Linked DNA regions of Homo sapiens: all the other regions are linked to region 1. The links are contacts of gene promoters, found by promoter capture Hi-C in blood cells and fetal thymus (Javierre and others, 2016). All regions are on one chromosome and are shown on one strand. The core of a region is centred on a gene start or on the middle of the fragment in contact, and the rest is flanking DNA. Distances in the headings are between cores, read along the strand shown. Region 1 holds the start of SQLE (squalene epoxidase). Region 2 overlaps RNF139 (ring finger protein 139). Region 3 overlaps LINC02964 (long intergenic non-protein coding RNA 2964). Region 4 has its middle 170 kb from the start of LINC02964. Region 5 overlaps RNF139-DT (RNF139 divergent transcript). Region 6 has its middle 4.1 kb from the start of TYW2.

Region 1 (3,552 bases), core at 1-2,500:
AGTGAACCCAATCCTACTCCTAAATAAGACATTCATCTGCCCGCTTTGAAATCAACCTACCCTCCTGGCCTCGAGCTGCTCCTTATTTTCTGATTCAGGGGGGGATTTGGCCCAGAAGAAGCCAATGAAAGGCAGGCCTGAGAGAATATCCGAGAAGAGGGCGAACTGGGAGCCGCTCTGCTGGCGCCCGAGGAGACCCCCGTTTCGGTGGCGACAGCGGTAGGAGAGCACCAGGCCCAGCGAGAGGAACACCAGCACGCACAACAGGACCTCCCTGTTGGCCAAAGTGATGAAGTCCCCGAACTTCTTATAAAAATAGGTGAAAGTGGCAATGCCCAGAAAAGTCCACATGGTTCCAAGGCTTCTTTGGTGGCACCGGTCAAGGCGGAGATTATCTGCTCGAGTGGGTTTAAGGTTCTCCCCAAAATGAGGTACCAAGAGGAGCACGGAGAGCCGGCCAGACTCCAGTAAACAGTGTCCCAGGACGAGAAGTCCGATCAGACCAGTTTTTAAAAATCATATAAAGTTAGTGTAAAAGTATGTGAAGCCAAGTTGTATAGGGCGTAGAAAGCAGTATTTAAAAATCGCCTGCTGGAACAGCTCCCGAGCAGACTCGCTCCTCCTCGCCCAGGAAATCCAGATATTCCCTTTTTTTCTTTTTTGATGGTGTTCCCTGAGCGGTTGCTGCGGGTGATGGATACTCTTCTGATACTGGCTCTTCGTGCTATAATTTCTTTTCTCACCAAGAGCAGGTGCCCTTTCAGAAGGGAATGGGAGTGGAGGGAGGGTCACAGAAACACCTCGGCACTGGGGGAAACGTGGCCTAGCCTCTGGCGACGGCGAGCAGCGGCCGGAAGGCACGGGGGCTGCGGGCCGGCGCGGGTTCAGAGGCTTCTTTTTCCGCGGACGGAGACACTGTACAGCCCAACCTCGGGAAAACGCCAACGCCGACGCCTTCTCCAACAAAAGATGGCCTCGGACTCAAGAGTGCGGCTCCAGGGCAATGCAGCCCCAACCTAAAGATTTAGAGGCCTCCCGTTTCGCTGGCCCCCAGAGCCGCCCACCGCGACTGCACTTCCCCACCGATAAAAGGTGGTTTCCAGGGTACCTCCCTCAGATGGCGGCGGCGGCTCCCGACGGCTTCCTCACCAGCATCCCTCGCGGGCGGCGGCTCTCGCCAGCGCGGCGCGGCCCCAGTAACCAGAGTAACCGTCGCACGCCCCCACTCGCCGCCAGGCTCCACGCGTCTCAGCCAGCTGGGCGGGCTCGGCCCAGACGAGGGACCGGGGGCGGGGCTCAGGCGCGAGTCCGCCCATACCGCGCGCCCCGCGTGCTGCCCCGCCCCCTACCCCTGCTCCTGCCGCCGCCGGCCAATGAGGGCGCGCACCGCGCGGTAGGCCGAGATGGCGCTATGCCGCGTTTGGCCAATCGGAGGCGGCGCAACCTGCGCGGCGACGCCCCGAAAGGCGCTAGGGCGATGTTGCGTGGTGCGGGTTGGGGCGTGGGGATGGGCGCGGGCCGGCTCCGGCGTGGGTGGGGCCAGGGGTCGCCTAGGAGGCGCTCTGGGGCCGGGATCGGCGTCGGGGTCGGGGTTGGGGTTGGTTCACCGCAGCAGCCCCAGCTCCTGCGCCCTCCCTGGACTGAGGTGTGCTCGCTTTGAGGAGAAGCCTGGAGTGATCCGCTGCCTCGGGTCGGAACGTTTCCATTCATTCCGCTAGCATTTATTGAGCGCTTATGATATGTCAGTCCCCGGAGTCCGAAAGAGGAATCAGACACAGCTTCCCTGCCCTGTGTATGTGGAGAGGGCGGAAGGGAGGGCCATGAGTGCGTGGAGAGCCTGACATTCCAGCTGAAGCTGGAAGAATGAGTAGGCTTTTGCCTTAAGAAGAAAAGGAGAGGACGCTCCAGGTGCTCAGGCTAGAGATACACGGATGCGCCCAGCCCGTTCTCTCAAGACCAGAAACGTTGGGGGTGGGGGCTCGGAGGCAAAGAAGTCAAATAGTCGTGTCATAGGTGTCCTGAGAAGGGGGTGGTTAGAGAGGGAGCCATGGAAACCCAAGAGGTGGTCCTTCCCTTGGCCTGGAGAAGTCTGGTGAGGCGCCCAGGGGGAGGTTACACGGTGTCCAGGACAAGCAGTCCGAGGGAGCAAAAGTGTGCAAAAGTCTCGGAGTGAGACAGCCCTTATTCTACTACGATGAAACTTACCTAAAATTTATTGAGGCTTAAGACCTCAGTGTCTTTGCTCATCCTGTTTCTTAACTCTGGACTTCCTTCTTTAACCCCTATGATAATAGGTGCAAATCCCTTCTGCCTTTTGGAGCGTGGCTGCATTGTCACCTCTTCCACCAAATCGCCATTGACCTTCACCAAGTCACATAACTTTATTCATACTTTTTAATCTCTAGATTCCCTAAAGATCTGTGTCTGATAAGATCACCCACAGCACCTAGCACAATGCTCTGCCCTTAATTTATCCTCCATAACATGTATTTAATGAATGATGAACGACACTGGCGCATAAAAGCAAGACTAGGCAACTAGAGTTAGGAGACCCAGATTCTGGCTACCGCTAACCAGACTGTGACCTTTTACAGATGTTACAAGTCACTCTGCCTCTGTGGGGAGAAGGCAACTTCTTCATGAACTCGAACATCCTTTGCAATTCTGTATCAGATACTTGGCAGGGTTTAAAAAAACATGGCACCTCTTATAACTTTTCACCCCCAATATTATGTTTTATCTGCTAATAAAATAATTATTTGGTAAAACACCCGCACAGGCGTTCACTTGACCCTCAAAACAACTTTGATTTTTAAAATGAGGAAAATGAAAATTAAAGAGGTTAAATGGCTTGACTAAATCACAGCTGTGATTAAATCGTAATGATGAAACCAAAAGTCAAAGTCCTGGTCTCCAAATCTTGTGGTTCCCCAGTATGCATAATTATCAATAACTGCCTTGCTTTCCAATACTTTTATTCTTTCTTCTACAATATTCCTCACTGTTACCAGTAAGTTTGGCTGTCTGAACTGACATCAAATTTAAAAGGACTGCAGAAAAGAGAATCAGTTCAATGTATGGGAAATCATTTCCTGAAGAGAATTCTTCAATAAACTGCTTATTGGTATCTGTGAGTTCTGTTTTGTTAAAATAATAGAGGAGCAGCTGACTCTTTTATTATTTTTAAATTTTTGTGACAGAGTCTCGCTCTGTGGCCCAGGCTGGAGTGCAGTGGCGCAATCTCAGCTCACTGCAACCTCTGCCTCCTAGCTTCAAGCGATTCTCAAGCCTCAGCCTCCCGGGTAGCTGGGACTAGAGGCACGTGCCACCATGCCGGCTAATTTTTGTATTTTTAGTAGAGACAGTGTTTCACCATGTTGGCGAGGCTGGTCTCAAACTCCTGACCTCAAGTGATCCTCCCGCCTGAGCCTTCCAAAGTGCTAGGATTACAGGCATGAACCACCAAGCCCGGCCAACTGACTCTTACAGATGGGAATACAGTTATCACCAGGATGGCTGTTACCTGCTAACTCTGTACTCAAGATTATCATA
Region 2 (3,843 bases), core at 497-2,996, 510 kb after region 1:
TGAGCTGTAACTCTTGTTAGCCAAAAGACTCGTAGTATGTCTGGGAAACGAATCCTCTTCCATGTGTCCTCCATCAATAACTGTAATCCGTAAATTCGATACATGTGCCTCACCAAAAGATAAACATATCGTGTGGAATAATAAAACCACTTCAGTTTCACTGCCAGGACAAACACTGTATTTAATGTGAGAATCAAGGAAGAAGTAAACAGTAAAGTCTCTCTGATGTGTAATGGTAGCTCTGTGATTAAGCCTATTACAGGAACCAAGAGATCCAAAATAATTAATTGTGAATAGATGGAATGAATCTGGAGTAGTGTAACGTATCCAATTCCAAATGTTAGCTGTAGAACGATAAGTGCCATCCACAGCGAGGGACCTTTTCGAGGAAGCAGCTCAATTCCAAAAGCTGACGTGTTGTAGGCACCATAGAAGTCAATGTGCAAAGAAGCATAATAATTCACCAACACTGAAGTTGCAGCTAACAGAAAGGCTGAGCTGTACGTGTAAAACTTGAAAAGTGATCGTTGTGACAAGATCAGAACAATACTGGATGCAAATACACCTAAAAGAAAGAAAGAAAAAGTCATTTGAATGAAGTATTTGTAAGAATGTTTCCCCACTAAGAGTTATGATATTCTTCCTTTAATTAGGAAATATGAATATTTTCAGTTATGAACATTAAGCCTCAAGACAACTAAGGCTTAAAGGGTAATAAAGGTTTTGTAAAGTCAGAGTTCAGGAGAACAGACCAAACATACTAAATTATTCTTTAAAATTTCATTCCTTACTTTCTAATTTCCAAAGTATTTCAAGTAACACTGTAGCTGTCCAAGGCACCAAATTACTAAATTATTTTCAAGATGAATTTGTAGTGGTACATACATTTTAACAAGTTTTAAAACTCAAAAGAATATGTCTTTTATCATTTCATAATCATTAAAATTAATTTTAAAAATTGGGTTAAAAATAACCCAAATGGAAAACATTTATTCCTATTAAGTTTTAGATTCATTTATTATTGACTGACTGAGACAAGAGTCTCACTCTGTTGCCCAGGATGGAGTGCACTGGTGCAATCTCAGCTCACTGCAAATTCTGCCTCCCAGGCTCAAGCAATTCTCCTGCCCCAGCCTCCCAAGTAACTGGGATTACAGGCACCTGCCACCATGCCCAGCTAATTTTTGTATTTTTAGTAGAGACGGGGTTTCACCATGTTGGCCAGACTGGTCTCTAACTCCTGACGTCAAGTGATCCGCCCGCCTTGCCTCCCAAAGTGCTGGGATTACAGGCGTGAGCCACCGCACCCAGCCAAGTTTTAGATTTTTTTTTAAAGGATTCTTTAGGAAATCAAGTTCAAGTTTTATACTTCCACTTAATTCCTCCTTTTCTTCAAACTGTGAACTCATGCCAGCTCTTATTTCCTACTCCTTAACTCTGAGCATTCTCCAAAGGGTCCAAAATTCCATTTTTTTTCCTCCTAGTTTCCTTCGGACTTAGAAACATCTTCCAAGTTCCCTTTTTCCTGTATAATGCTGAATCTGTTTCTTAAAATAGTCAACTCTTTTTATTGTTCTTCACATTACAAAAGTAACACTCAGAAAACCAAGACATGTTTTTAGAAAATGGTAATTCTCCTTCCCCCACTCCATAGACACCATCTTTCTTTGTACTCTGACAGAAATGCATATTTTAAGTAGGATTACAATAAACACATTATTATCCAAGGTTTCAACAATGGGAATGACATCTGAATACTCACCTACTTTCACTCCTACAACTGCAAATCTCCAAAGTTCTGAAACTCGACTTGCCTTAAACTAGAATCAGCTTTTCCTTGTGATTTGCTATTTCAGTTGAAGGTACCATTATTGTTCTTTTAGAGATACTCCCAACCCAGCCCCACATGCTCAAACTTTGCCAATTAGTTGCCAAATTCTTCTAACACCTCTATCTCCCTTTTCTGTGACACCAATCAATCAGTCTGTCTCAAAAAACCCTCATCTTGTCCAAATCCATTTACAAGCCATCACCAAATTGCCTTTCTTCATTCCCTGCTCAAAATACTTCAGCGGCTCTGAAATTACTATCAACTAAAATCTACATTCTTGCTCCTGGCATTCAAGAACCCAATTTGCTTTACAGTAATATTCCTCCTAACACACACACATCAGTGCTCCAGACTTGGATTCCCCAAACACATTCCTTTCTCCACTATAGCTACAGCAGTGTTTACATTCTTTTTGCTTGGAATGATGTCCCCAACCTCCCAATCCCTGACTATTCAAATCCTACCTATCCTAGAAACCTACTTTCTTTGATAGAAACTGTTCTTTCAGCATACCTGCAGAACTTAGTGAAACATTTAACACTCATATATCACCTGATATTGTAGTCTGCAGTTATCTAAGTATAATCTACCCTATTACACATGTATCTATAACAGAAAGCAAAGATCCTACCCTGTCCATCTATGGATTCTACAATATTTTGTACAAAATAAGTACAATTAGTATTCATTAGGAAATGTCTGTCACATCTGGATGTTTTTAAAGGCAACCACAAAATATAGCCTGCTTGAAAAATAAAATCTATGTTTCAGACAATGAGAAACCATACCCTGGAGTACAGAAAAAGTGACAAACTCCAAATTAAAAATCCATCTTGGCTGGGTGTGGTGGCTCACAATGGTAATCCCAGCACTTTGGGAGGCTGAGGCGGGTGGATCACTTGAGGCCAGGAGTTCAAGACCATGTCAACATGGTGAAACCCTGTCTCTACCAAAAATATAAAAATATGCCAGGGTGGTAGCACGTGCCTGTACTCCCAGCTACTCAGGGGGTTGAGGTGGGAGAATCGCTTGAACCCGGGAGGCATTGCAGTTAGCTGAGATCGCACCACTGCATGCCAGCCTGGGTGACAGTGAGACCCTGTCTCAAAATACATAAATAAATAAATATTAAATAAAATAAAAATCCATCTATCCACCTTATTTCAGCAGGTAATCAAGACATTGCATATTATTACAGTAGACGCATTTCACAATCCACTGCACATATAAGCAAGGGCTAGTTCATTTAAGTGATGACTCTGTCCAGGGATTTAAAATGTATTCTGTGCCAAAATGTCAAGTCATCTGTGAAAAGGAAAACAAAAGGACACAATAAAGTAGAAGACATATAAACCTCTAAATACAAACCACCTGATTCCCCAAGAAAATGGGCCACTAATAATCCCCCAAAGAGTTGTGAGCTCAGAACAGGCTCTTTTAAATATATATATTTTTAATATATATATTTTTAAATATATATATATTTAAATAATATATATATATTTTTAATAGATATATTTTTAAATATATATATATTTAAATATATATATATATTTTTAATATATATATTTTTAAATATATATATATTTAAATAATATATATATATTATATATATATATATTTTTTTTTATATTTTTTTTAATGGAGTTTCGCTCCTGTTGCCCAGGCTGGAGTGCAATGGCGTGATCTTGGCTCACTGCAACCTCTGCCTCCCAGGTTCAAGCGATTCTTCTGCTTCAGCCTCCCAAGAAGCTGGGATTACAGGTATGTACCACCACTCCCAGCTAATTTTGCATTTTCAGTAGAGACAGGGTTTTTCCACGTTGGTCAGGCTGGTCTCAAACTCCTGACCTCAGGTGATCCACCCGCTTCGGCCTCCCAAACTACTGCGATTATAGGCGTGAGCCACTGCGCTCGGCCCTGAAAAGATTTTTTTATTAGAAACTTCTTCCATGGAAGGTAACAAGAAAATGGAATTAATTCAGCCTACCAGATGCCATATGTAATCTTAC
Region 3 (3,519 bases), core at 141-2,640, 650 kb before region 1:
TCCCCATCATGCAGGCCTCCCCAACATGGTTGCTTGTTTCATCCAGCCCACAAGGAGAGTCTCTGATACAGAATCTGATATAACATAACTCAATCACAAGAGTGACATTCCATCCCCCTTGCCATATTCTGTGGGCTAGGAGCAAGTCACAGTTCCTCAGGCAATCGACAGAAGGAGATTATACAACAGCATGAACACCGGGAGGTAAGGATCATAGAGGCCACCTTGAAGTAGGTGCCACAATAAGAGTCTCTGCCTTAACTTTAGCAACTGTCACATTCTCTGCCAGAATACCCTCATCTCATACCCTCCCATTCCACCACTAGAAGGCACAAATACAGCTCACCACCACCAACTATACAATTTCTTTGCAGTCACATATTTTTACCTTAGAAATTCTTGTGACATTTGCATTTGCATTTATTCTATAATGTATCCCAACATGTTTTTATATAAGAATTTATTTAATATTTACTGGTCAGATAGTTTAACTCTTCATGTCTTCAAATGGAAACAAAGCTTAGGAAGATGTGCCATGTTTTTTCATATGCAACTGTGTACTTCTGTTGGAGGACAGTTTAAACTGTATTTATCCTAGTTTTCAAATCCCTTAAAGTTTGCCTGGAAGACCTATAGGGTGGACCTATAAGAATCTATTTGCATAAGTCATTAAGCCTCCTGGGAAGAAATGCATTCTAAGGAAAAGTTACCCAAACTTTGTTGATTTTTTCACATTTTACAACATGTATGATATGTTCTGCATTTGAAAACCACCTGTACTTAATACTTTTAATTAACTCCTTTTTTAAAATTTACCCTCTTCTTTAACAAAAACAATAACCTACACTTTTCCTAGTACACTTTAAAATAAAGTGGCTAATGACTAAATGTTTTATTTTTTTGTTTTTGTTTTTGTTTGTTGAGATAGGGTCTTGCTCTACTGCTCAGGCTGGAGTGCAGTGGTGCGATCATGGCTCACTGCAGCCTTGATCTCTCAGGCTCAAACAATCCTCCGGCCTCAGCCTCCCAAGTGGCTGGGACTACTGGTGCATGCCACCAAGCCTGGCTAATTTTTTTTTTTTTTTACTTTATGTGGAGACAGGGTCTCACCATGTTGCCCAGGCTTATCTTGAACTCCTGGTCTCAAGTGACCCTCTTGCCTCAGCCTCCCAAAGTGCTGGGATCACAGGTGTGAGCCACCACGCCCAACCTGACTAAATGTTTTAATCATAATTTGCTTAACATCAAAATTCATTTCACCCCCACCCCAGCCACCTGTGGTAAGCAGCCTCTAAGATGATCCCCAATGATTCCTGGCCCCTTGTTATTCACAGCCTTGTGTAACCTGCTTCAGAGTGTGAGCTGGACCTAGTTACTAGTTTCTAATCAATAGATTTTGGCACAAGGGATGATACATCACTTGAAGAATAGGTTATAAAAGACTGTGACTTGTGTCTTGTTTGCCTTCTGCCTCGCCCTATCACTTGTTCATTACAACAAAGCCAGCGCCATATTGGGAGATACTCTATGGAGAGATCCATGTGGAAAGAAACTGAGGAAATCTTCTAGCCAGTAGCTCCTGAGGCACAGAGACCCTCGGCACAACAGCCGGCAAGAAACTGAGTCCTACCCCCACCAACCCCAGGATGCTGGGAAGCAGCCCCTGCCCTATGCAGCCTTGCCATGACCACAGCTTTGGGAAAGACCCAGAGCCCAGAGACCCAGTTAAGCCTCTCCTGGATTGCTGACCTTAAAAACTGTGAGACACTAAATGATGCTGTTTTAAGCTGCTAAGTGTTGGGGTAATTTGTTACATGGCAATAGATAACTAATACAGCCTCGACCAATGGTCAGTGCCCCACACTTTAGAGAACACCATCCTAAAGGGACCATGTTCCAGTGGGACACTATTCCAGTGTAGTAAGTGGAGCAATCATGGAAAGTAGAGGGACAAGTTGAGTGCAACGGCTCAGACGTGTCCAGATACGCTTCTTTACCTCTGCCTTGGAGCTTGTTCCAGAACCTGTGAGGGTGAATGCTGAAACAGAAAAAAAAAAAAAAAAAAGAATTACTTTTTATTAAAATCTCCTTGAGTTACTGGGAGGCAGCGTGGCCCTGCTTTGGGGCAAATGTAAGTAAACAAGATGCAAAAAGACAGAGGCATCGGGTCAGGATGGATCACAAGGTGACACTGGATGAATGTGGGATCCCCAGTGCAGACACCAGCCACACCAACCTTGGCAAGAGCCTCCAAAGCTTGAGTGCAGACATCAGAGCAGAAAGCTGGAGCTGGGAAACAGAAGAGTAAATACTACATGAGAGACAGGGGGATGGAGTTCACATGGACACATGAGCTGTTCCCTGGGACTTCCAGAAATAACTAAGATGAGACCCTTGGCAGGGGATCCCAGACAGTAAGACAAGAGACTGACACAAGGTAAACATAAAGCAAATACAAATATGTATTGACAATCAATAAAATAAAAGGTGTAATGGATATTGTGACCCTGATCCTCCTCAAAGTCTAGGGTCCCCAGGGACTTAAGAATATGAAATATTCTCTTCCTAACAATATTGTAAGACCACAGTACAGGGTTCCGCCTAGCCTTCCAGAGTGTGATGTAAGAAGGGCATTTATCATTAATTCCTCTTTACAGAAGAGGAAATGATTTCACTCGGCTCACACAGCTGGTGGGTCTTGATAGACTTGGAACCAGAACCCAAGGCTTTTGATTCCTCATCTAGTTTTCTTCTCCAGGTTGTCCCTTTAATTTCCATCATTACCCCACCCTTCCCACTGGAATAGTGCCTTAATGCTGTTCCTTCAGGATGGTGTTTTCCACAGTGTGGCATAAACCGTAAGTCAAGGATGTATTAGTTATCTATTGCTGCACACTGACATTCAGTGCGAAATGCGGAAAGAGAGAAATACCGTGGTTTTTCCGATCTAAAGACTATAATATAAATGAGCTTATGTTTACCCCCTTGGCCTGGCCCCACAACTGGAGGCTGCTTTTTTTTTTTTTTAAACAGGGTTTGCTGGGGCAGAAGCCTGCTTATTCAGTGCTGCACAGTGCAAACACCAGCCAACCACCTCCTCCTCATCACACCACAGCCAAACTGCTCTGAAATGCAACCTCAATGCCCTCTCAGGCTGAGCTCACTCCTCAATTTCTGGGTGCACAATCAGCCCTGAGCACAGGAGGCAGAAGAAAGCACCAGTGCATTGTGGAACGTTTCCAACATAGCAATGATGCTACTTTAAACAGCTCAGTGTTGTGGTATTTGTTACACAGCAATAGATAACTAATACATCCTTGACTTACAGTTTATGCCACACTGTGGAAAACACCATCCTGAAGGAACAACATTAAGGCACTATTCCAGTGGGAAGGGTGGGGTAATGATGGAAATTAAAGGGACAACCTGGAGAAGAAAAACAGATGAGGAATCAAAAGCCTTGGGTTCTGGTTCCAAGTCTATCAAGACCCACCAGCTGTGTGAGCTGAGTGAAATCAT
Region 4 (3,522 bases), core at 80-2,579, 690 kb before region 1:
CCGCTAGGGCGCACTGCCCTTCAGTCATTGATTCCAACATCACAATATCCACCATATCTTCAAACCATCTCATTATTTTTAACTCAGATTTTATACATCATTTTTATTCCAATCAACATGCTTTTGTAACTTTAAATAATCTGTTTTTAAATATCCTTTATACCAGTACCACAAATGCAAATATATTGAAAGGAAATATGACAGGCTGTTTAACAGGAACATGGGCCCTGGAGCCAAAATTGTCTGATAGAAACCCCATCTCCACTGTTTGCCAGCTATGTAAATTTAGACAGTTTGTAAGACTCCTTAAAGTTTCTGTGTGTCAACATCCCCATGTGTACAAAGGGGATAATAAGAATATCTAAAGATAAGGCTGTTGTGATGATTAAATGCTTTGCTGTAAAGCACTTACAACAGTACCCAGGACAAAGTAAGCCCTCAGTAAATGTGAGATATTCTTTTTTTTTTTTTTTGAGATGGAGTCTCATTCTGTCACCCACGCTGGAGAGCAGTGGCGCGATCTCGGCTCACTGCAACCTCCACCTACTGAGTTCAAGCAATTCTCCTGCCTCAGCCTCCCAAATAGCTGGGACTGCAGGTGTGCACCACCATGCCCAGCTAATTGTTGTATTTTTAGTAGAGATAGTGTTTCACCGTGTTGGCCAGGATGGTCTCGATCTCTTGACCTCATGATCCATCTGCCTCGGCCTCCCAAAGTGCTGGGATTACAGGCGTGAGCCACCACACCCAGCCCAAATGTCAGTTATTCTTGTTGTGACAAATAATTAAATAAATAAATAAATAAATAGTATCACTTGCTACAGATAGAAAATAACCACCAAAAAATGCATAACTGTGAAAAGTTATTAAAAGTTCATCCACGCACCATCAAAGGCATCTGTGTGTCATCAGTAGTATACATTCCACACTCAGGCAAACACTGTTGCAGAAAGTGCCAAGAAACTCTACCAAGTGGTGCTGTCACCGGGCAAACTAACTTGGGAGTTACTCTGGTGTTGCTTTAGACTTAATTCTGAGGTTTCCATTAACCTGAGAGCTGCATGTGTCCAGGGAAAATTCCCTTTGGAATCCACTGTTTTGGTTCATCCAAAAGCAGCTGGAAAACATCTGTGCCCAGGGATTAGGAACTGATTCCTCCTCTGTGGGAAAGAAAGCAGTCTCTCAAAGCGAGCTGCTCAGCAACAGGCTCATTAGCACTTTGTACTTCTTGAGGTTTGTTTATCTACAGATCTCAACATGCCTCAAAACATTCATTAATGCTCACAACACCCGGTCAGCCCAGAATCACAGTCCCCATTCTGCAGATGGGAAAATTGATAGAAAGGGCTATTAAGTGACTGCACTCTTAAGTGACTGAGCCATTAAGGCACTGTTGAGCAAAAGAAGAGTTGTGGCAAGAAGAAAAGTGATGACTCCTGAGGATCCGGGCCTGCAGTACCACCCCACTAATCAAGCATTCGCCCTGGGATGGAGACACGCAGATGGCAGGAGGCCACACGGTTCCCTTTATTGTTCCCATGACAGTGTGGGAACAGGATGGCATCTTTGGAGAGAATTCCAGAAGTGCCAGGCACTGGGCATTTCATACATTTTTACTGGATGAATATGTGGAGGGAATTTTCACGAAGGAGTCCAATTTCTCCTTCCCATCCAATTTCCCACAAGAGGAGTGAAGATAATTCCAGCAGGACCTAGAGCTAAGCCAGATTTGGTTGGGAAATTTATAGCCCAGAATAACAAACAGGTGCGTAGATAGTGTCAGGAAAGGAGGCCAAGAACATGAAGGCATCGCATCCAGGGAGTAAGATGAAGAATAGAACCAGAAAGCAGGACCATAGCTTGAAGCTATGGAAGAGGTTTAAAACAAGTTGTGAAGATGAGATGTATAAAGAATCTTCGAAATGTTCATTTCTTTTAACTCAAAAAAAAAAAAGTTAAGGAATCTCTTCAAAGCAAATATTAGGAAAATTATATAAAGGTTCCTATACAGTTGTATAAAAATATCTGTAAATATATTGTTTTAAAAGTGTAATCCAGGGCCAGGCGCAGTGGCTCACGCCTGTAATCCCAGCACTTTGGGAGGCTGAGGTGGACAGATCACAAGGTCAGGAGTTTGAGACCAGCCTGGCCAACATAGTGAAACCCTGTCTCTACTAAAAATACAAAAATTAGCTAGGCATGGTGGCACACACCTGTAATCCCAGCTACTCAGGAGACTGAGGCAGGAGACTCGCTTGAACCCAGGAGGCGGAGGTTGTGGTGAGCCGAAATGGTGCCACTGCACTCCAGCCTGGGCAACAGAGCAAGACTCCATCTCAACAACAACAACAAAAAAAGTGTAATCTATACTAACAAAAATTAGAAATAGGCCGGCTACAGTGACTCATGCCTATAATTGAGGATTTTGGGAGGCAAAGGCAGAAGGATCACTTGAGCCCAGGAGTTTGAGACCAGCCTGGACAATAAAGTAAGAATTTGTCTCTACCGAAAAATGCAAAAAAAAAAAAAAAAAAAAAAAAAAAAAATATATATATATATATATATATATATATATATATATATATAAAATCTAAATATTCAGAATTAGGGATCGATTTAAAGAGGTTATGTTACGCCAATACTACAAAACCATTAAAAATATTTTTAAGAAAATTTAATTATATAAACAAGATCATAATAAACAAGTGAAACTTCAGGATACAAAATAATTAACGCAATCATAAAGATACCAGTATTTTATACTTAAAGAAAAACTGGAAGAACATAGCATTAAAGTATGTAAATAATTTGGTTGGTGGAATTGTGTGCTTTAAATGCATATATATGTATTTACTAAAATGTCAACAATAAGCATGTATTATTGTAATTTAAAATATTAATTGTTTAAACTTTTACTGTGAATATTATTGAGACTTTACCTACGGACTTGTTCTACCCAAGTGAAGGCTATGAGGTTCTAAAACAGATCCACAGACTTAAAGAGGCAGATTGTACCTGTTGTCTGGCTACTCCATGGTGTCCGAGTAGCCAAGGTGCTCCCAGCCCTCTACATTAATGAAAGGCATCACAGAGCATGAGAATGAAACCTGGAATCAGAGTCAAGAGAACTCCCTGGTAGTCCCAGGTAACTCCCTTATCCACTCCATAGCCTTGAGCAAGGCACTTCATTTCAGATTCCTCATCTAAAATGGAAATAGCAATGCAAGTACTGACAACTTCCCAGTGGCATAGTATGTAGAAAGCATGTTCAAGTGGGAGTTGCATCCCCATAGGGATGAAAAAAACAGCATCCTAGACCTTGTCCCAAAGAACAACTTCAGAGCTCATCCTTGGTCAGGTCTGCCCATCCATGTGCATTCTCTCCCTCTATCGGCCACCCAGTGAGAATGGATGTCCACAATTGTGACCTTGGAGTCATGTCTAGCTCCCAGAGGACTTTCAGACTCATCTAAGAAAGACTAAATCAGGAATGGGATTCTTAAAAAGGTATAGGCCAGGCGC
Region 5 (3,785 bases), core at 585-3,084, 530 kb after region 1:
GCGGGGATGAGAAGTCCAAACTCCCCACTTGGGTCACTGGGAGTGAGAGTATGTGGTTATATTAATTTCCTATCACTGCTATGACACTACGAACTTAGTGGTTTCAAACAACACAAATTTATTTTCTTACAGTTCTGGAAGCCTAAAATCAAGATATCAACTGGACTGTTTTTCCTGAAGTCTTCAAGAAAAAGTCTGTTTCCTTGCCTTTTTCAATTTCTAGAGGCTACCTACATTTCTTGGCTCATGGCCCCTTACTCATATCACCCCATCCTCCTGCTTAAGTCATTGCATCTACTAGGCAAATCTGCCTCTCTCTTGTAAGAATCTTTATGATTATATTGGGCCTATTGGATAGTCCAGGATAATCTCTGTATCTTGAGATCATTAACTTAGTCATATCCACAAAGTCTCTTTTATCTTGAAGGTAAAATATTCATAGAATCCAGGATTAGGATCTGAACATATTTGGGGGCCATTATTCAGCCTACTACACAGTAGGAATTCTATTTATATCCTTTCATTCCCAAACATGCATGTTATGTATATATGAGACACAGCACCATAAAATGAGTGTTGATTTAGAGTATATACTGTACCCTGGTGGACAAGGTCATTCCATTTTCACAGGCTATTATCTTCAAGCTTTTGCTTCAGTTTCACCTTCAAAAGGGTTTTTCATCATTCCATCAGACCCGCATTTTCTCGGTTATATAGTATGTGATAGGACTAGTGGATCTCATGGTTATGTACCTGCTGATACACCTCCTTTGCTGTAAAGTGCATCCCTAAATCAAAGGCAATATTACACAGGATACATGTTGATGGATCAAATACCTGTAAACCTGTGAGTAGTAGAGCTGGCCAACAACTTATAGGCAAGGAAGTCAAACTCATACATGCAGATGGGCAGTTTCTAGTCAAGGAGAATCACTGCCCATTCTAGGATGGAAGGAATCCAACATAAATCAATTTGCTGCCCAAGTAGCTGTTTGGTATCCTTGAGGGTTGGTGCTGTATCAGGAACTTGGTGTTTAACACTGGGGAGTGGCTATTTTGTTGTTGTTGTTGTTGTTGTTTTGTTTTGTTTGAGACGGAGTTTCACTGGTTGCCCAGGCTGGAGTGCCGTGGCGCCATCTCGGCTCACTGCAACCTCTGCCTCCTGGGTTCAAGGGATTCTCCTGCCTCAGCCTCGTGAGTAGCTGGGATTACAGGCATGCGCCACCACGGCCAGCTAATTTTGTATTTTTAGTAGAGACGGGGTTTCTCCATGTTGGTCAGGCTGGTCTCAAACTCCAGACCTCAGGTGATCCGCCCACCTCAGCCTCCCAAAGTGCTGGGATTACAGACAGGAGCCACCGCGCCCAGCCTGGGGAGTGGCTATTGGATAAGTGGAGGCTATCTATTGGCTTCTTGCTCACTTGCATTCCTGCAAGATGACTACTTTGTCATAAGCCCCCTGTGCCATTCCTGGGGGCGGAGGGAGGGGGCGGTGGAGCCGATGGTTGTAGCTGCTGAAGTTTACTGGCTAAATCTGTCTACTTGGTTATTTAATGCTGCTTACATGTTGGATTGTCTCTGGCAGATAAAGATTGTGTTATACAATACAAAAAGCCCTCCTTATGTGCCATATCTGATATATTTCTCCTCTGCTTCTCCAGACTTCTTGTCCCTGATATACCAGTCTTATTCCAGACCCCTGATCAACTAGCCAACTTATTTGCCATGAAAATATGTTCTTAGTTCAAGACACTTTCTTTCCACACACAGTTGATGACCAGGAATACTGCCCCACATTATGCCTTTTGGGAGGGTTCTCCTTACTGCTGTCTTTTAAGGCCAGTCCTGTGTGGGGCTGTAGGGCAGTAGCAGTCCATTTTTGTTTTGAACCTATATTCCAAGAAACCTCAGTGAATTCAGCTCAGGCTTTTTTGTCCTCCATAAGCTAGACATGAGAGCCTCCCAAGTGGCCATAATTGTGAGCTGAGGAAGGGACATTGGTAAAGAATCAGATATGACATGGGAGCCTGACCACCTGCCTTTGCCCAGCTCATGATGGGCCTCTCTGGCTACATGGTCACTTGATGTCCATAATCAGTTCTTACCAAGGCACATTAGCATGGATAGAGTTGTTTTTGGGATTTTGCACTGCAGATGGCCCAGCCTTGCCACAGAATGCCAGGAGTCGACCTTGTGATTCTCCCATTGGAGCTTGCCTTCAACTTTCATGGCTTCTTATCACATTTACTCTTGTCCCATAGAATATCCTGAATTGGTCCATGCAACAGGGCTAAATACACCATACCTGCTAGAGAACTTTTACATGCTATGGATCCCACTGAAAACTGGCAGATTTCTATCTCACCCAGTTTACGAGTCAGAACAGTACTGCCAACTTCTGAATTCCCACAGAAGCCTACACAGCTTGGTGTGCTTCCCTGGTGGCAGAATAATTTTGGTGAAATGAGTGGGTGAGATGCAATAATTTGTCCTTTACTGTGAAGGGGATATCTTGGCATTCAAGCAGCCTACTGGGCCCTAAAAGTTTCACTGAGGTAACAGCTTGCTGGGTCTTAAGGATTATTTCCCATCCTCCAGTGTACAGTATGCTAGCTGCTTATTATTCACCTTATCCAGCTAGCATGATGTCATCAATGTGGTAGGTCATTGTGACATTATGTGGGATGTTTAGATGGTCTAGATCTCTTCGGATTATGACGCAGTGTGGAAGAGTTAACATAACCCTAAGCCAATACTATAAATGGGTACTGCTGTCCTATATAAACACAAACTTAATTCTTGTCCAGCACTCTCAGGACCCAGTTCCATACACATGCTCATGGTTCCTGTTGGTACATGTTGGTTAGATCCTGCATCTCTTTGGTCATATAAGCCCATTTGGAATTGAAAGTAGACACACAGAATGAGGGCAAAACACCTGCAGAACAGCTGCTTCATCATGGTGGGCTTTTTTCATATTAGGTTTTGTTACCTTTGAGTTTTTAAATTATGTGTAAAGCTTCGATTAAAAAAATAAAAATTATTAAAAAGAAACTGAGACAGTCTATCCACCTATCTCTATTTACCCAGTGCTGTTGTTGTGTTACATAAAATTCAATTTTAGCTTCATGTTCATGCAATATTTTCGTTTACCCTTGATTCAACCTTGACCTTTAAAAAGCCAAAAAGACAAATACCTATTTTGACACTGGTTCTGATCTCTCTGAAATTCTGTGTGACCAATGGTCAAGTAACCTTGCAGGTTATTTATCATGTCTAATCTGAAAAAAGTCATTGTATTTACTAATATTTTAATATTCACCTTATAGGTAAGCATTCTAAACATGATTGTGGCAAGAAATTCTTATATGCTTTACATGTTGAAATTCTGTGTCAAATGAAGTACATATGTATATTATTGCAAGAGTGAATTTCTTCAGTAATGATTGTGACAGCTAGTAAATTTAAGTAGAAAGTAATTATAAACTTCCAAATACTTTTTTTAAATGGGCAAAATATATGAAACAATGGCCCTGAAGGCATTGGACATAGGCAGTGAAGGATAGTAATCCATGAGAGATGGAATGCAAACAAGGTGAGCAATACAATTGCTCCAACTTGCTGCCTGAAGAAAGGCTTTGGCATGGGGAGAGGGAACCCAGAAGACTCTGTGAGGTGAGGAGATATAAGTGGGAGTCCTGAGAGCCCAAGGCAACTAGAGTTCACAGGGTAGAATACTAGAGAGGACAGAGTGACACAGAGAGAACTCCAGAGATCTGCTGACC
Region 6 (3,974 bases), core at 815-3,314, 550 kb after region 1:
TTACACAGAGAATAACACTACTAATACTCTGTCACAAGTGGATCACAAGCTGTTGTACTAAAGCACATGAGACCATTATTCTTAGCTAGCTACATAATTTTTGGTGTGGGGTCCTCCTCTCGCCTTCTGAGAACACCCTACTCTGTAATAGAGTAGTCTTTAATAAACTTGCTTCTTTCACTGTGCTCTGTGACTGGCCCTAAATTCTTTCCTGTCTGAGATCCAAGAACCTGTTTTTTGGGTCTGGAACAAAATTCCTTTTAAGTAACATTTCCTGTGGCAACTCCCAAGGACTTTATTGAGGTGAGACCTTCAACCCAAAAGAAATAGACTGCGCAGGACCAACTGACTGACTTTGGGTAAGAAGGGGAATACATTTTTATACCGATGAAGGACAAGGACACTTATCTAAGATTGGGTTTGAGGCCTACTTGGGAGGATTAAAGGCCCCTCACAGCTGAAAATGGGTTTAGCACAATGGGATGTTAACCATTATTCACTGTGGATTCGTCCTCCTTGTGCTCTCTGTAAGAGCTTTCCAAAGGCTGCCACTTGCCAGTTTCCTGATTGCTTTCTATGCTTTACTGCTACTTTATGAGAGAGATCTTGTTGAACTGGTCCTGAGGTTTTTAACTTTCCTTTTTCTTGTTTGCCTTTGGGTTATGGGCCATTTGCCTGTTGTTCTGGCATGTTGCTAGAAGACATTGGGGACAAATGGCTCTGTAATATTTACTTTCCCTAGATCTAGACCACTTAAATGAATTGTTTATTGTCTCTCCTTTTTTGCAAAGCTTACTTGGAATTTCGCATTTACAAGTTTTAAATGAAAAGGTCCAATGTGAAAGATTAAGCCTGGCAGCAATTATACCAGTCCCCCCTAGGTGAACTGCTCCAGGATGGAAAACTGGAGATTGCTTTTCAGCAGTTCTTTTTCATCTCCTTGCTAATGGAATGACTTTTACTTTTTGGTTACAAATGGCAAGGCCATGTAAATCTTGTCCTGCTTGCCGCTACTGGCCTGAACTTGGACATTCCTTTCTAGAACTTTGTCATTTCCCTTCTCTAGTGAAACATTTCTTTTGCTGAGTCCCCTATTGTGGTCTTTACTTTTGATTACCTAATAATCTTTTGGTTTCTGTGTTAACTTGGACAATTCTTCCCCGTGGGTTTAGGGACAGGCTTTACTTTCTTCCTTTATGTGGCTGAGAAACAAGGGACAGCCCTAAATGTTCTTGTCTAGAAACAGGGATACATCCCTTGACCCATGGCATATTTTTCTAACCAATTGACCATGTGGCTTCAGGATGACTCAGATGTTTCAGGGCAGTTGCAACAACTGCTCTTCTCATAGATGAAGACAATAAATTAACTTTGGGACAACATCTGGAGGTTTTGACCCCACACCAAATAACAGAGGCCCTAGAAGCTAAAGGGCACCAATAGATGAGTAGGGGATAGTTATTAAATTATCAGGCTTTATTGCTAGATACTCTTGATATAACTCTTAAAGTATAACAGAAGACCTTAATCCTAGCTACGTATCTACTTGGATCCAAAGGCACCCTAGATCATTCATGTACACAAGCTATGGAACAAATTTATTCCAGCTGGCAGGATTTAAAAGACGGGCCACTAGGGCTGGGTGTGGTGGCTCACACCTGTAATCCCAGTACTTTGGGAGGCTGAGGCAGGCGGATTACTTGAGGTCAGGAGTTCCAGAACAGCCTGGCCAACATGGTGAAACCCCATTTGTACTAAAAATACAAAAATTACCTGGGCGTGGTGGTGCACACCTGTAGTCCCAATTACTCAGGAGGCTGAGGGAGGAGAATCACTTGAACCCAGGAGGCAGAGCTTGCAGTAAGCCAAGGTCATGCCACTGCACTCCAGGCTAGAGACAGAGCGAGACTCTGTCTCAAAAAAGGATAATAATTTTAAAAAAGAATTAACATGTACACAAACTCCAAGTATGGCTTTCTGGTGCTTCATGCTCATGCTGCTATTTGGAAATAATGGGGACTCTTTAACTTCTAAGGGCTCCCCTATAGAACATTATTTGGGAATTTTAAATCTACTAGATGCTTCCTTGCTGCCTAAGGAAGTTGCTGTGATTCACTGCAAGGGACATCAAAAAGAAAACTCCAAAATATGCCAGGCACTGTGGCTCACACCTGTAATCCCAGCACTTTGAGGGGCTAAGGCGGGCGGATCATGAGGTCAGGAGTTCGAGACCAGGCTTGCCAACAGGGTGAAACCCCATCTCTACTAAAAATACAAAAATTAGTTGGGCGTGGTGGCTCGTGCCTGTAATCCCAGCTACCTGGGAGGCTAAGGCAGGAGAATTGCTTGAACCTGGGCAGCAGAGGTTGCAGTGAGCCTGAGATCGTGCCATTGCACTCCAGCCTGGGCAACTTGAGCAAGGCTCTGACTCAAAAAAAAAAAAAAAAAGAAAAAAAAGAAAAGAAAAGAAAGAAAGAAAACTCCAAAATAATAAAAGGGCATTCTTTTGCAGATGCTACAGCTGAGGCAGCTTCATTTGAGGGAACCAGTTAATCTGGTAGGCATGTTGGTGCCCACTGCCTTGGTGACGATAAAACTAGAGCATGGTTAATACTAGAAAAGAACAAAAATGGGCTAAGACCCATGGGTTAACTATAAGCACTTCCAGATGGCTAATTGATGAAAATGACAGATGATATGTACCAAGAGCTGATCAATGGAAAATAGTTAAGTATTGGCATGGCTCTACTCATTTGGGAAGAGATTTCTCATTTCAATTAATATGGCTCATCTGTTTATAGGGAAAGACTTTCTTTTTTTTTTTGAGACGGAGTCTCGCTCTGTCACCCAGGCTGGAGTGCAGTGGTGTGATCTCAGCTCACTGCAACCTCTGCCTCCTGGGTTCAAGCAATTCTCTGCCTCAGCCTCCCGAGTAGCTGGGATTGCAGGCATCTGCCACCATGCCCAGCTAATTTTTGTATTTTTAGTAAAGACAGGGTTTCACCATGTTGGCCAGGCTGGTCTTGAACTCCTGACCTCGTGATCCACCCACCTCAGCCTCCCAAAGTGCTGGGATTACAGGCGTGAGCCACCGTGCCTGGCCGAAAAGACTTTCTTAGAACAGTAAAACAAGTGACTTGGGCCTGTGAATTGTGTGCCCAAAAAAACCTCAAACAACCAAACTTTACCTCCTCCATTAGTAAAGCCTGTTCAGCATAGGGGGTCGTACCCAGAAGAAGATTGGCAAACACACTATACCCAAATGCCCCCATGTAAAGGATTCCAATATTTATCAGTGTTGGTTGATACCTTTCTTTACATGTTGGATTGAAGCTTTTCCTATCTGGCCTGAAAAGTCAATCAAGGTTTCTAAATTTTCATTCAAGGATATGATTCCCAGATTCAGGTTGCCTAAAAGCTTGTAGAGTGATAATGGCCCATCTTTACAGCAACAATAACCAAGACATAGCATCCGCTCTAGGAATTCAATATGGTCTTCATTCCGCATGGAGGCCACAGTCTTCAGGAAAAGTAGAAAGGACCAATCAAATTTTAGACAGGACCCTTGCTAAGCTCTGACAGGAAACATCAGAAACCTGGCTCCGTCTATCGCCTGTGGCCTCGCTGCAAGTTTGGGCTGCCCCAGTGGAAGGCTCAGCCCTTTTGAAATAATGTACGGAAAGCCTTTCTGAAAGAATTGCTGATTTCCTAGTAGATGGAGATACTTTCAAATTACAGAATTATGTTGCCAACTTAGGTCAGGTGCAAAAAGCTCTTCTTGAATACAGAAATGAGAGACTTCCTTCCCTCACTAAGGAAAAAAATCCTATTGTAATCCAGCCAGGAAATGGGATCCTGTTAATGACTTGAAAAAATGGTCCCTAGCAGATCAACTTTCCCACAGTGGAAAGGACCCTACTAAGTAAGTACTCCTTAGTGCCTCAACCGCAGTTACACTTCAAGGAAGAAGCAGC

What was found. Contacts are between HindIII fragments. The CHiCAGO score rates a contact against its expected background, and 5 or more counts as called.
Region 2: a contact is called between a fragment that was not itself captured here and the fragment with the promoter of SQLE in region 1, in 1 of 17 cell types (erythroblasts). The highest score is 5.2, in erythroblasts.
Region 3: a contact is called between a fragment that was not itself captured here and the fragment with the promoter of SQLE in region 1, in 1 of 17 cell types (neutrophils). The highest score is 5.0, in neutrophils.
Region 4: a fragment that was not itself captured here is called in contact with the fragment with the promoter of SQLE in region 1 in 1 of 17 cell types (neutrophils); the score reaches 5.3 in neutrophils.
Region 5: a fragment that was not itself captured here is called in contact with the fragment with the promoter of SQLE in region 1 in 3 of 17 cell types (erythroblasts, megakaryocytes and total B cells); the score reaches 7.5 in erythroblasts.
Region 6: a fragment that was not itself captured here is called in contact with the fragment with the promoter of SQLE in region 1 in 5 of 17 cell types (naive B cells, fetal thymus, total B cells and 2 more); the score reaches 6.8 in naive B cells.

Annotation. Positions count from the first base shown.
Region 1 is chr8:124,996,203-124,999,754 of GRCh38, reverse strand. It overlaps SQLE (squalene epoxidase), which reads right to left and starts at 1,250. Exons shown (of 11, transcript NM_003129.4): 1 at 61-1,250. The coding sequence starts at 351. It overlaps SQLE-DT (SQLE divergent transcript), which reads left to right and starts at 1,557. Exons shown (of 2, transcript NR_134457.1): 1 at 1,557-1,792; 2 at 2,595-2,767. RefSeq lists enhancers at 890-939, 1,870-1,929 and a silencer at 1,150-1,649. The HindIII fragment of the contact is 7,996 bases long and covers 1-3,552 here.
Region 2 is chr8:124,482,553-124,486,395 of GRCh38, reverse strand. RNF139 (ring finger protein 139) reads right to left here. Exons shown (of 2, transcript NM_007218.4): 2 at 1-565. Among named protein-coding and RNA genes, the nearest start is that of RNF139, 9.6 kb to the right of the region's middle. The HindIII fragment of the contact is 4,732 bases long and covers 1-3,843 here.
Region 3 is chr8:125,648,752-125,652,270 of GRCh38, reverse strand. LINC02964 (long intergenic non-protein coding RNA 2964) reads right to left here. Exons shown (of 7, transcript XR_001746072.2): 6 at 1,998-2,038. Among named protein-coding and RNA genes, the nearest start is that of LINC02964, 130 kb to the right of the region's middle. The HindIII fragment of the contact is 1,737 bases long and covers 522-2,258 here.
Region 4 is chr8:125,689,480-125,693,001 of GRCh38, reverse strand. No RefSeq gene overlaps it. Among named protein-coding and RNA genes, the nearest start is that of LINC02964, 170 kb to the right of the region's middle. The HindIII fragment of the contact is 6,595 bases long and covers 1-3,522 here.
Region 5 is chr8:124,463,539-124,467,323 of GRCh38, reverse strand. RNF139-DT (RNF139 divergent transcript) reads left to right here. Exons shown (of 2, transcript NR_108047.1): 2 at 1-3,785. Among named protein-coding and RNA genes, the nearest start is that of RNF139-DT, 9.1 kb to the left of the region's middle. The HindIII fragment of the contact is 2,374 bases long and covers 648-3,021 here.
Region 6 is chr8:124,444,707-124,448,680 of GRCh38, reverse strand. No RefSeq gene overlaps it. Among named protein-coding and RNA genes, the nearest start is that of TYW2, 4.1 kb to the left of the region's middle. The HindIII fragment of the contact is 2,542 bases long and covers 794-3,335 here.